Linked DNA regions of Homo sapiens: region 1 is linked to region 2. The links are contacts of gene promoters, found by promoter capture Hi-C in human tissues and cell types (Jung and others, 2019). All regions are on one chromosome and are shown on one strand. The core of a region is centred on a gene start or on the middle of the fragment in contact, and the rest is flanking DNA. Distances in the headings are between cores, read along the strand shown.

Region 1 (7,280 bases), core at 630-3,129, 210 kb after region 2:
AGGGCCTGGTGGACCTGGCTCTGTGACATCTGGGACATCAGCTGGAAAGACGAAATGGCTGGGACTGGAGTCATCTGGAGGCCACTTCACTTGCACATTTGGGTCTGGGTTGGGATGACGGAAGCCTGTGCTCAGCTGGGCTGCTATCCAGAGTGCCCATATGCAGCCTTTCTGAGGCAGTGTTCTCAGCGGAGCTGGATTTCTCACAGGGCAGCCACGGGCTCCATGAGCATGTGTCCGAGGAAACAAGGTAGAAGCTGTGTGGCCTTTTATGATGTAGGCATGGAAGTCACAAATTGTCTTTCTTTTTTTTAAACAGAGTCTTGCTCTGTCACCCAGGCTGGAGTGCAGTGGCGCAATCTTGGCTCACTACAATCTCTGCCTCCTGGGTTCAAGCAATTCTCCTGCCTCAGCCTCCTGAGTAGTTGGGATTACAGGTGTCCACCACCACGCCTGGCTAATTTTTGCATTTTTAGTAAAGACAGGGTTTCACCATGTTGGCCAGGCTGGTCTCAAACTCCTGACCTCAGGCGATCTGCCTGCCTCAGCCTCCCAAAGTGCTGGGATTACAGGCAGGAGCCACTGCACCCGGCACAAATTGTCATTTTTAATGCTCTCCTATGCCCCTCCAGATTCAACAAGCGGGATGTAGATCCCATCTCTTGAAGGCAGAAGCGCTGCAGAATTTGCAGTCAAGTTTTACAACCACCACGGGAACACATTCACTTTCTTGAAAACTGGGTAATTAAAGCAAAGAAAATCAAGTTTTTTTTCCTATGTGAACTGTACCGCGGAGAAATCAAATACAGCATGAAGGGCAGAAATGCTTACTAAAAGTATTTTAACTAAAGGATGCAAAATAAATGGTGACATTAGAATATCGTCATTTTGCAGACCACATAAATCTAGCCACTGAGCTAATGAAAGGACACAGCACTACCTAGAATCTTGCCAAAGAGACAACACGAGTCTAGGGATAGAAGAGGAGTCTGACGCAGCCTCTGGCCCCAGCTTCCAAGCTGGCAGGAAAGACAGACAGAGGAACATGTTGAATTGCACCATGAGCCTGCAGTCACCTCAGAGCCAGACTCTGAGATGTTCTACACATCAAATACCCCAGCTTCTTCAGCAGGCAAACTGCAAGGAATGGAGAGAAGCCTATACATTATAATAAACTTAAAAGACATAAGGTAGAAAAATTGGGGGAGGTACAGACTAAACTAAAGTGTCTAGTCAGGCACATTTGGGTCCTAAAACCAAAAAGAAACAGGAAAGTCACTACAGTAAAAGGACAGTGGTTCCTTTTTGGGGAAGGGAGGGAGTTGAGGCTGGAACAGCACAATGGAGCGTTCTGGGGTGACTGGTTCTTTTGGTTACATGGGCGTTCACCTTATTATGACTCATTAAGTTCTACTTTTATTTTGGAAGGTTTCTATATGTTTTATTTTACAATAAAAAGTAAAAGAGGAGCAGAGAAATACAGAAAGAAAGTGATTTTGATGGTGGTGGTGATTGAGGCAGTGGTGGTGATGGCAGTGGTGATGCTATTGGTGGTGGGGGTGGTGGTGGTAGTGATGCTGGTGGTGGTGGTGGGGTGGTAATGGTGGTGGTAGTGATATGGTAGTGGTAGTGGTGGTGGTGATGGTGGTGATGGTAGTGGTGGTGGTGGTGGTGGTAGTGATAGTGATATGGTAGTGGTAGTGGTGGTGGTGATGGTGGTGATGGTAGTGGTGGTGGTGGTGGTGGTAGTGATAGTGATATGGTAGTGGTAGTGGTGGTGGTGATGGTGGTGATGGTAGTGGTGGTGGTGGTGGTGGTAGTGATAGTGATATGGTGGTGATGGTGGTGGTGGGGGTGGTGATGGTGGTAATGGTGATGGTGGTGGTGGTGATGGTGGTGGTGATGGTGTTGATGGTGGTGGTGGGGGTGGTGATGGTGGTGATGGTAGTGGTGGTGGTGGTAGTGATATGGTGGTGATGGTGGTGGTGATGGTGGTGATGGTGGTGGTGGGGGTGGTGATGGTGGTAATGGTGATGGTGGTGTTGGTGATGGTGGTGATGGTAGTGATGGTGGTGGTGATGGTGTTGATGGTGGTGGGGGGGTGGTGATGTTGGTGATGGTGATGGTGGTGGTGAAGGTGGTGGTGATGGTGATGCTGGTGGTGGTAGTGGTGATGGTGGTGGTGGTGATGGTGGTGGTGGTGGTGGGGGTGGTGATGGTGGTAATGGTGATGGTGGTGGTGGTGGTGGTGATGGTGGTGATGGTGGTGGTGATGGTGGTGATGGTGGTGGTGGTGGTGATGGTGGTGATGCTGGTGGTGGTGGTGGTGATGGTGGTGGTGGTGGTGATGGTGGTGGTGGTGATGGTGGTAGTGGTATGGTGGTGGTGATGGTGGTGGTGGTAGTGGTTATGGTGGAGGTAGTGGTATGTTGGTGGTGGTGGTAATGGTGGTGGTGATGCTGATGGTGGTGATGGCAGTGGTGACAGTAGTGGTGGTGGGGGTAATGGTGGCAGTTGTGGTGATGGTGGTAGTGGTGGTGGTGATGGTGGTGGCTAACATTTATTGAACATTTATTAAATGCAAGGCACTGGCCCAGCACCTACCACAGGTTAGCTCATTTAATTCCCCCCACTATTATCCCCCTTTTTCATATAGTGAGACTGAGATTTACAAACTTTAAGTAATCTTCCCAAGGTCTTATGTTACTGAGTGATAGACCAGAAATTTGCTGATGATCCACAAACTGAACAGTCCCACAAGTGAGGTTAAGGGAATGGCAAGGCCATGGGGATTCTATTCCCCTCTTCTCGGCTGAGTGAAAAAAAAAAGTAAATACAGAGTATTTTGCTCTGTAATCTTCAGTCTGGAGAGACTGAAATAAATGTTTCACTTTTGATAAACAGGACTTTAGGGGAGTAGAGAATATTGCTCTAAGCACTTTGTGATAAATTATTGATTTTATTTGGGATTTACATGGAATAATTGATCTTCATGTAGTGATTTTAAAGATCCAGTTATCTTTACTGAAAACAAATGTCCTACACACCTTTGCTATTTATCTTGTTTCTACTCTTTTAAAAGGAAGGCTTTGTTTGTTTGTTTTTTAGGGATAGGGTCTTGCTCTGTTGTCCAAGCTGGGGTGCAGGGGCGCGATCACAGTGCCCTGCAGCCTGGAACTCCCAGGCTCAAGGGACTCTCCCACTTCAGCCTCCTGAGTAGCTGGGACTAGAGAAATGGCCGCCATGCCTGGCTAATTTTTGTATTTTTTGTACAGACAGGGTCTCTCTATGTTACCCAGGCTGGTCTGGAACTCTTGGGCTCAAGCGATCCTTCTGCCTCAGCCTCCCAAAGTGCTTGGATTACAGGTGAGAGCCATTGCGCCAGGCCAGGAAGCCGTTTAAATCATATAAATTCAAAAATAATTCAAATAGAGAAAGAAAATAAATCGTTAGATTTTTAAAATGAAATTTTGGCTATAAAAGAAATACCTTTTTAAGAAACACGATTAAAAGAATATATTCTCTGGTCTCTCCAAATCACACTGAAAATCCCAAAGCAAGCTGTTTAATCTTCTAACATAAAAGCAGGCCCTTTGAATGCAGGGAACATGTCATAATTTCTTTTGTGTTCTCTACCAAGAACATTCAAATTCAGGGCCCGCTTGATAACCAGACCAATGCTTTACAGAATTTGCAATTAGTGGATTGTCCAGAAGAGGGCGCGCGTTGCCCATGTTACTCAAAGGCGCCGCCAGACCCGGCCGAAGCTGAGTAGCTAAGAACAAAAGATGCACATTCCTCTCTGAGGACAGAACAAAAGGGTGGATTTTAAAAAGCAAAAGAAACGCAACATTTAACGCTGCCTCCCATAATCTCCACGAACACCCTACAACTCAGCCACAGCTGGTCACAGGCAGGCTGAATATTACATTGTAAAAAACAAACTGGAAAGCAGCTGTTTTTAAAACAGATATCGTTTGCTTGGTGTAATTCCATCCGGGTAATGCCTATTTATTCAACAGTCAATTCTGCCTGAGTTGTGTTTTCCCGTTATGAGATACAGGTGGGCATCGCTGAATCCAAAACCAGTACATAGTAGAGACAAAAGTATAGATGCTCCATTTTGTAAGATCGTGGTGGGACACTGCATTCCCCCAAATAATGCCTCGTATTCTCACCCCTCACTTTGTTTGCTCTCATTACCAGTGAAAAACGCATCTCATCCACATGAATAGCTCCACTCAAATGATAATGCTTTTTTTTTTTTTTTCTGAGACAGAGTCTTACTCTGTAGCCCAGGCTGGAGTACAGTGGCGCAATCTCGGCTGCACTGCAACCTCCGTCTCCCGGGTTCAGGCGATTCTCCTGCCTCAGCCTCGCGAGTGCTGAGATTACAAGCGCGCACCACCACGCCCAGCTAAGTTTTTGTATTTTTACTAGAGATGGGGTTGCTCCATGTTGGCCAGGATGGTCTCGAACTCCTGACCTCAAGTGATCTGCCTACCTCAGCCTCCCAAAGTGCTGGGATTACAGGCGTGAGCCATGGCGCCTGGCCTGATAAAGCTTTTTAAAACTTAGTTATAGCCACTTTCATGGTCAGCTTTTAAGAAAGCAGTAAATATTCCTCAGCAAAGGCAAAGATAGCAATATCTCAGAGCAGGCAACTCAAAGCAAACACACAAAAGGAAAACCCAGCCCCCTTGTTTACTTACGGGTCTTCAAGCTCCTAATATTGACATGAGTTTCTGAGGTCTCCTGTGCATTTTCTTTTCTACAGCAAACAACAGGGCTTTTAACCTATAAAGAGGTAGATCTGGCTGCCCCAGAAAGGTGGGTTAACTGTCCCCCAACAGACTAAAGGAGAGTGAACGGTGCTGAAGAGCAACAGGCAAGAAGTCTTAGGAAAATAAGCTCCTCTGCATGAGTTATAGTGAGGCATTAGCGAATTTGGGGCAAAGACCCAGAACGGGAAACAGCCATCAGATTCGTGTGTGAGAAGTATTCAGCCACAGCTTTTTCTTAGGGTCTGTTTGAAAGTATTACATTTAACTTCAGCATGCCTTTCCAAAAGGTATATTTAGAAGCAATTAGGTTAAAAGCTTTGAGCTCCTTGGAGTTCTATCTATACAGATATCTACTGGCCTAGGGGACCTTAAGGTATTGAATTAAATGAGTCTCCCCAGCCTTTTTGTTGAGACAGGGTCTAGCTCTGTCACCCAGGCTGGAGTGCAGTGATGCATGATCATGGTTTGCTGCAGCTTCGAATTTCTGGGCTCAAGTGATCCTCCTACTTCAGCCTCCCGAATAGCTGGGACTACAAATGCGAGACACCATGCCCAGCTAATTTTTAAATTTTTTGTAGATATGGGGGTTTTGCCATGTTGCTCAGACTGGTATAAAACTCCTGGGCTCCAGTGAACTTCCCACCTCGGCCTCCCAAAGCATTGGGATTATAAGTATGAGTCACCACTCCTGGCCAAGTCTCCTTTTAAGATGCAAGAGTCTCCATATATAAAGAAAGCAGCTAGACTTGGAGCACGCAAGCTTTAAGGCATTTAGAAAAGATCAGGTGCACCTCAGTATGAGGGCTACTAAGGAGTTGAGAGCTGTTGCTCTCAGCAGTCATTTTCCCTATGGGGCAGATTGCTCAGGTAGGAGCCCTCTGAAGGTGTGAGACAGGACTCAGGTGTGAGACAGGACTCAGGTGTATCTCTGCCTGCCCACACCCAGGAGGGTCTCCACGAGCAAAATCAGGGGACAGGCAAATGAGAGAGCCCTCCCCAGCATGCCTTCCCCACACCTGCTGCCTGGCTCGCTGAGCTGTCTTGACTGCCTACTTTTGGCTTAGGAAACCAGGCTGAGGCCTAGGCAGCCTACAGACCCTCTGCAGACCCTCTGCAGACCCAAGCCCTATTCAGCCCAAGCTCACCCTTCCCTCTGATCACATCTTCCCTTGGTGCCATTTTTAACTTCAACTCCAGTTACTTCCTGCTCGTTTTCAAGTGTGGGAGTTTTGATCCTGGGGCCTTAAGGATGGACCCTTAAGGGGGCTGAAATGCTCTAAAGTCATCTGCAAAATGTGTGGTTATAAATATGTTTCCTTTGTCCTGAGAGGTGACCCTTTGCTTTCACCAGATTCTCAAAGGAATTTACAGCCACCAAAAGGCCGTAGAAACCAATCCAGGGGGACTGTGAATGAACCGAGGTTGGAGACACTGCACTGTGTCAGCGTTAAGCCACAGCTGTCAAGTCGTGACAGGCAGAAGAGTCTAAGGAGCTCACTGGGCCAGGTACCATGGCTCACGCCTCTAATCCCAGCACTTTGGGAGGCTGAGGTGGGCAGATCACCTGAGGCCAGGAGTTCGAGACCAGCCTGGCCAGCATGGTAGAAATCCTGTCTCTACTAAACTACTAAAACTACAAAAATTAGTTGAGTGTGGTGGCGGGTGCCTGTAATCCCAGCTGCTTGGGAGGCTGAGGTGGGAGGATCGCTTGAGCCCAGGAGGTGGAGGCTGCAGTGAGTCAAGATCGCCTCACTGCACTCCAGCCTGGGTGACAGAGTAAGACTCCGTCTCAAGAAGAAGACGAAAAAAAGAGCTTGCCAGATCCTTCCCTAGCATTTAGATGACATATAGGGACCTTGGAGATCACCTAATCCAAACCCTTTATTGTATAAATAAGGAAACTGAGTCTCAAAGTCACACAGGGCAGGTGTCAGGACCAGCATCTGAATCTCCTCTCAACCCTGCTTCTTGTAATATCACTCATGAGGGTCAAGTTCTTCTAGTTCTGATCCTGGAAATTGTGGGAAGATGTTGCAGGAGAGAGACGAGTTGCATATCTATAGAGTTGTTGTAGAGTAGACTTTATAGAGTTCATGTAAGCAGCATATCATTAGGAGTGTGGAGTCTGGAACCTGAGTTTGCATGTTGACTCTGCCTCTTACTACGTGACCTTAGGGAAGCCATCTCGCCCTATGCACCCAGTTTCATTAGTGTAGAGAGGGAGTGAGAGTAGCAGGCACCCTGCAAGACTGCTGTGAGGATTACGTGTGTGCACTCACAGTCACTCAATACATACAGAGCTGAGAATAAGGTCTGACATATATTAAGCACTCATCCTTCTCCTCGTCAGCCTCATCTATTGGTATATTTCAACAAGCATTTATCAAGCACTTGCTGTATTCAAAGCATTGTGCCTAACACCAAGGATAGAAAGATAAAAGATTCAGTTTAGTCCCTCCTGTCAGGAGCAGGCGGTGGGGAGCCACAGTTAATCAA
Region 2 (7,360 bases), core at 1,331-3,830:
GGTCCAGGACTGCTCTATTTGCCTCCCTTCATTCTCACCTCTGCAGTATCTGACAAATCAAGCATGAAATTCATAACAGTTAGAAGACTCCTTCAACATATTTTTCTAGTCCAATAGGTCCTAAACTGCCATACATTAGAATCACCTCAGGAGTTTTTAAAAAATACCGATGCCCAGGCTCATCTCTAATGAATGGAATCAAAATCTCTGGAATGGGACCTGGGCAACATATTTTTTAAATCCTCCAACTTATTTTAAAAATCCTCTCCAACATATTTTTTAATTGTGCCCCAGGGTTGAGAACCCTACTTTTGTCAGCCCAGAATCTGAAGGCCATGTCAAGGGCGCTGCGGGGCAATGGGAATCCCTTTAGAATTTCAGTGTGTCGCTGCACTAGCAGAAAGCAGATCCTGAAGTGTTAGGAAAGACTCCTAACATTTTGATATTCGAAACAGCTCCTTGCACTCCACAAGAATCTGCCCCCCAGAGGCAGGCAATGAGGAGAATCTAGCGTCCTGGGGTACCCAGTTTTAGGAAAGCTCTCAACACTCAGCTCAGCAGCTATGAAAGTTACTCAAGAAATGTGGATGAGCTGTATCATCCATTTACCTTGTTTTCAGGCTGATTTATTCATCAGTCTCTTTCATGACTAGAAATAATTTCTATTATTAACCACAGTAGGAGTATCATAGCCAGAATTAAAATAACTAATGTAAAAAGATGCCATATTAATACTCATATTTAGAAACTTCTCAAAAAAATCAATGAGGATTTATCTAATATTTAATTAAGACTAGGAAAAACCTGATAGTATAAGTTAGAGATGCATTCAAATTAGTAAGTCAGGAGACTCAAAACCTGACTCAAGGACTATGAAGCTTTCTGGAAGTATTTTAAACCACTTAAAAAATCATGTTATCTGAGGAACCTTCTCAGTTAGAAGTTATGGAATTCCTACAGCCAGCCCTACTAATCAATTACGATAAAATTATGAAGAATTATTAAGTAGACATCACTGCTGCTCTCAGAGTTCAGCACTGCACTTCTCCAATTTCAAAAATTGCCTGAACTCATTAACTATTTACTTAGGATGCCTAACCAAATGAAAACAGCTATTAATTCATAATCAATCAAAAGTTTACCTTTGACCAACACTAAATTTATTTCTCGATCACATATTAAAAAATAGGAAGTCCACATCTTATCAAAAGCTTTAATTTTTTAAAAGGATTCTCTATTATCGGAGGTAAGCTTCTAAAGAGTTAACACATTTAGTATTAGCAGGTGATTCATGTGTAGAGAGATAGATTAGGTAAAAGGACAACGCGCGTTTGAGCTGCACAGTTCTCCAAGTCAGTTATACGAGGCCAGCAACTCTGCAGAGAAAAATTGTAACACAGAAGGGCACTGCTAACAGATTTGTTTTAACTGTAGTCCTGTTTGGCTCCTTAGAGCACTTCACGCCCAGGTGGCTGGGTTGTTAGTTTAACCACAAAGAAGCCGTTATCATTTATAACTACATCTGGACAAATATCTTCAAATAAATACCATACAACTGGATCCTGGTGTCCCACCCTGCCCCCCTTAGCTCGGCAACATTTAACGGCCACGTAAGTAAATGAAGATATTAAAATCTTAGATCCATTTAACCAGATGTTGATTCTTCGCCAACTGAAGCAGAAAAAACGGCATGAAACTTTGAAGGTTTATGAAAATGATTTGATGAGCAGAAAGACGTTAAGCTCACAAAGCCGATCTTACCAGGACTTAACTGATCATGACCCACGAGGAAGCCTAATTCAGTGCAGAGCGTCCTTAAAAAAGCAACAGCGCCCTACACAACCAGCAGCACCCGGCACAAGAGCAGCGACTCCTGCCCTTTGGCAGAAACCGGGGCGTTTTCACAGAAATCGACTAATTGGCACACAGTGAAGATCCATTAGGTAACTCGAAACTGAGCAGTTCTGGAATGTGCTCTACATATTACAATACAGAAAACCACTCAATGGTGACAAACCAGGAGTGCGCTTTGGGATCAAGACGTTCGCTCCCCGCAGTCCCTCCCGCCCACTTGCGCTTTCTCTCCCCGTTCTTAATGGGGGGGGCTACACCACGCGGGGCCGAAGCTGGAGGCGTAGGGAGCCCAGGTTCTCAAGGGCCCCGTGGTCTTTTAGATAAATCCAGGTTGGTGAAGTTCTCGGGTCACGTTCGCGAACGCTTCCCGCGTTCTAACCTAACCCGCCCGAACGGGCCCTGGGGACAGACGCGGGGTGCAGCCGGCGGGGAGGCCGCGGATGCCCCCGCGCCTCGGGACTCCGGACAGGAGCGGCGGGGAACGCCGCAGAGTGCGGAGTGGCTGCGGCGGGGCCGGGCTGGGCCCCTACACGGTGAGGCCGAGAGCCGGGCGACCGCTCCCGCGGCCCGGAATGGCGGTCAACGCCAGGCCGGGATCCACATGCAGCCGAGGGGCGGCGAAGCCCACACACTAGGGAGGAAGAAGACGCGGGACCGTAGCCTCAGTCCTTACCATGGCGCGGGCGCAGGGGCTTCCGCTGGCCGGGCCCGCGCTTGGGGAGAGGGGCGGGACAGGCCAGGACGCGTTTGATTTTGGCGCCGACTACGCCGCGGGGGCGGAGCAGCGAGACGGTGGAGGTGGGGGAAAGAGGCCGGTCCTCGCCCGCGCGGCGCGCAGCGACCCCTAGCGACCCATCCGAGCCGCCGGCGGGGGAAGGGGCGCGGGCCTGGGGCCGGGGCTGTGGGGAGCGTGTCCGCGTCTCAGTGGACGGGTTGCAGAGCTGCCTCCGTCTCCTCGGTATTCTGTGAATGTGACCTTTTTTTTTTTTAAGGACATCTTGCCTTTGCTTTTACTGCGTTTTCTTGGCGCCGCAGAAATATGGCCTAAGTTTGGATGTAAAAAATAGAGGCGTTTAGGCTGTTGAGGAAGGAAACGCTGCCTCCATCCTTCCGGACTTGTCCTGTCTGGGGCGGACTGGATTCCTTTCTCGTCTTCTAATCTGACCCCTCATCTTCTCCCGAGCCGCTACCCACTGCTTTCCAGCTTTTCAAATCCTGTGTATGTCTGTTTGTTTTTCCCTTAGGTTTTAAAAAAGAAGGAAACAACGGAATGAATTTCAAATCAACATGGTCAAAAATACGCTACTTCATGGCTTGAGAATAGATCCAGATTCATAGCAAAAGCTCAGGCCCCTGAAAGTGCTGAAAAATTTTAACTCAGAATTCAATTATTTTGAAAATTATTCTATGGTGTTTTGAACCATTTTTAGGTGTAAGAAGTACGGTTGGGCGCTGTGGCTCACACCTGTAATCCCAGCAATTTGGGAGGCCGAGGCGGGCAAATCACTTGAGGTAGGGAGTTTGAGACCAGCCTGGCCAACATGGTGAAATCCCATCTCTAATAAAAATACAAAAATTAGCCAGGCGTGGTGGCGGACGCCTGTACAATCCCAGCTACTCGGGAGGCTGAGGCAGGAGAATCGCTTGGACCCAGGAGGCAGAGGTTGCAGTGAGCCAAGACCCCGCCACTGCACTCCAGCCTGGGCGACAGAGTGAGACTCTGTAACACACACACACGCACGCACACACACACACACACACACACACAGTGTAGTAAGTCTTGTAGATGCTATAAGAGTAGCATCTAAAGTTGGAATTTATGTCCCCTGTTGCTTCTGCTGGAGGCAGAGGAAGGGGTACATTGAATTGCAGAGTTCCATTAATTTGGTTTTTCCTGTAAGAGTTATACCATGTAACTGATGGTACATAAGGTAATTTTAAAATGATAAATGAGTACATTAAGTAACTACAGTAGTGGTATATACATTTGTGCTACTTGGGGAAAGCCTTGTCTTAATTGGCTCTCAGGCTTGTTGCAGGTGAGTGGTGACTATCTGAGGCCAGTGGCGCTGTGGCAGAAAAATTTACCAAGGCAGTTGTAAGTAAAGAAAGGCAGAATCATTAGAGAAAGCATGAAAATACGTTGCAAGGGAGCAATGGGCAGAATCAGCAGAAAAGGAGCTGACTGCAAGGAAACAAAGGCTTGCTGGGGATTTTATAGAATAGTGCTTATGCTGTATACGGAAGAGGGCTTTGTGCAGTACTGATGTTACAGTCCCAAGTTTTCCTCCGCCCCTGCCTCTAAAGCGACACAGTGCAAAAGCCTGCCCTGGGACAGTAACAAATTGACCCAAACAGGTCTTCTTTTGGGAAAAATGAGTGCTAAATGGATATAAAAAAGGGTCACTTAAGCTGCATCTGTATCCTAAGTGTCACTGAGAGCTGCTGTGACAGTTCTCTGAGGTTCCTGTTGTGCATTGCAGTCTTGATCAACCAGACCTGGGAATCACCGCCACCTAGGAAAGAAGACACATTCTACTGCCTCTGGTTCCTTTGCATTTTCAGTACAAATACCTTAAACTTCAGATAACCTTCTGATGCCCCTTCCTTGACATTCTGAAAAGCATGACCTATAGGAGCAGCTTATTTATTTATTTAGAGTTGGGGTTTCGCTCTTTTGCCCAGCCTGGAGTGAAGTGGCATGATTTTGGCTCACTGCAACCTCCAACCCCTAGGTTCAAGCGATTCTCTTGCCTCAGCCTCCTGAGTAGCTGGGATTATAGGCGCCCACCACCACCCCCGGCTAATCTTTGTATTTTTAGTAGAGATGGGGTTTTACCATGTTGGCCAGGCTGGTCTCGATCTCCCAGTCTCAGGCGACCCATCCGCCTTGGCCTCCTAAAGTGCTAGGATTACAGGCGTGAGCCACCGTGCCTGGCAGGAGGAGCTTATAAAGGAAATAGGAAAACAAAGTCAAGTCACTTGGAAGAGACTGAGGAAAAAGTCTGCAATGTAGGAAAAGAAGTAGGAGAATGCAAAACCAAGAGAGGAGAAAATTTTAAAAGAAAAACTTTAGACAAATGAGTTCCTCTCGGCAACGTGGCCAGAGAGGTTTTTTGTTGTTGTTGTTTTGTTTTTTTGAGACAGGGTTTCACTCTGTCACCCAGGCTGGAGTGCAGTGGCACAATCATGGTTCACTGCAATCTAGAACTCCAGGGCTCGAGGGATTCTCCTGCCTTGCCCTCCCAAGTAGTTGGGACTACAGATGTGCATAACTATGCCTGGCTAATTTTTTAAAAATTTTCCATAGAGATGGTGTCTCCCTATGTTGCCTAGGCTGGTCTAGAACGCCTGGATTCAAGCAATCTTCCTGCCTTAGCCTCCCAAAGTATTGGGATTACAGGTGTGAGTCATGCCTAGCCAACAGGAAGTTTTTATAGACAGAAAAGGGAAGTGAGTTACAGAAATAGCTTGACTGATTACAGCTCCTTGTTTGAATTATTTGGCCACTGTCGGCAGCCTGTGGGCTGAAGCTCAGCTACTTGTGATTGGCTGAGAATTGGGGGTTTGTTACACACCATGCTTGGTTTTCAGTTTGTGTACCACGTTAGGTTGCAGTTCCTTACAATTCCTTAGGTAGGAACTCAAAGTGTGGAGACAGCTTCAAGCCAATGGCCGCCTGCTTATTTAACAAAATTTTAAGGAAGAAATAGTAAACATTATCAACCTGTCAGTCACAACACAGCTTCTGAGTTAGAAATGACAATGCAATCATGTCATTTGGGTAGGGCGTCATTCTCAATGGGATGACATCAAAATGGGTTCCTGGGAGACAAAAAGATCTTAGATGGTTTGTGCTCCAGTGGTTTGTGGCTCTCAGTACATAAACAGATGTACAGTATATCTCTGGTATTAAAATTTCATGGGACTGGGGATGGCATTGTGAACAGGGAAAAAACATCTAAAAAGGTTCTTTATGGGAATGGTAATGAGAAAAAAGGTTGAGAAAGACTGATGTCTAGTGAATATATAATTTATCATCCGAACTGAGACACTTCTGAGAACAGAAGGGAATGCTATTCCTATTTATGCTAGGACACAGGCATAAAGAGGATTGTCCCCATCAGCTATGTGATAACATGGAACTTCCATTATACTTTATTAACCCTTCTCCATGGCTCTTTAATTTTCCCTGTTTTATAGTTATTCTTTTAATCTTTCCATCTGGAATGTAAACTCCTTAAGAACAGGCACAGTAACATACTCTTTATAACGGTGCCTCATCAGTAATTTCTTCTTGAGAAATTCTGTGGTCTTGCCATATCAGACTATTTGTTATTCCCTGAACAACTCATGTTCTGGTGCCCTCTTTTAGCACAAGCCTGGGGGGAGTCTGAGTTCCAGGGTGACTCCAGGTGCCTGTGGGTCTACACTCACCCAGCAAGTATCCCTATGGCCAAGAGAGTATAACATTAAGTAGCAAATAAAAAACACTGTGACTGGTGGAGACACCACAGAAGAAAGGAAAATGTCTTTTTCATACTTCTTGAACAAGGGGCCTTGCATTTTCATTTTGCACCAGGCTCTGTAATTATGTAGCTAGCTCTATATGTATTCAGTTATTTGTTTCATCCCAGTAAAATGAAAGTCTGTGAGAAGAGGAGCTTTTTTTGTTTACTGCTATTCCCTAGTGAGACTAGCATAGTACCTGAACATTCTACACTCAGTAAATATTTGCTAATGAATACAGCAGTTTATGGTACTGTAAGTATCTGGTCTGTTTCTCCAAGCAGGCTGTAAGCTCTGTGAGGGTACAGGCTTCAGTATTCATCCCGGTATCCCGTCCACCTAGCCAAAAGGCTGGTGGACCAAGGGTGCTTAGACGTTTGTTTGGTCAGTGACTTTAACAGTGAAAAACAGACAGAAGAGTGAGTAGAACATCAAATGTCCACTTGCCCTTCCAGTCTCCTTAGGCAAAACTGAACTCGTTCTCTCCTCTGGAAAGGGATGCATCTGGCTTCATGTGAAATGTGCTCCTGGAGGACAATCTCAGATATGCTGAACTATGCAAGTGGCTTATGGAGGGACCCACCCTCTCTCTGATTCTGAAAACCTCCAAGGAGCCCATGATGGTGGCCTGCTTGGGTAAAAGAAAAAACAAATGAAGAATGGAAGTAGAATTCAATAATATTAATATTTACAGTTCATCGTCAGCAGTGTCACATTTGGTCTTTTTTTAAAGAGACAGTCTGTTGACTATGTTGCCCAGACTGGTCTTAAACTTCTGGGCTCAAGTGATCCTCCCACCTCAGCCTCCCAAGCAGCTGTGACTCCAGGCGCTGCCGCCATGCCTAGCTCCATGTTAGGTCTTCCTAATTTCTGTTGTTTCATCTCTCCTTCCAAGACTGACTCATGTAACCTCTTCCAGAGTTTCCATCTATGCTGGATTTTTTTTAACCCTCAAGAAAACAAAACGAATTTTTATTGTGTTCCGTCATTGTTCACA

What was found. Contacts are between HindIII fragments. The study calls those that stand out against the background at their distance.
Region 1: a fragment that was not itself captured here is called in contact with the fragment with the promoter of MND1 in region 2 in 1 of the 25 tissues and cell types used here (dorsolateral prefrontal cortex).

The regions. Positions count from the first base shown.
Region 1 is chr4:153,124,528-153,131,807 of GRCh38, reverse strand. No RefSeq gene overlaps it. Among named protein-coding and RNA genes, the nearest start is that of TRIM2, 76 kb to the left of the region's middle. The HindIII fragment of the contact is 6,887 bases long and covers 1-5,322 here.
Region 2 is chr4:153,339,908-153,347,267 of GRCh38, reverse strand. MND1 (meiotic nuclear divisions 1) reads right to left here and starts at 2,580. Exons shown (of 8, transcript NM_032117.4): 1 at 2,528-2,580. The coding sequence starts at 2,530. RefSeq lists enhancers at 1,472-1,591, 1,672-1,731 and silencers at 2,212-2,371, 2,502-2,811. The HindIII fragment of the contact is 8,470 bases long and covers 1,046-7,360 here.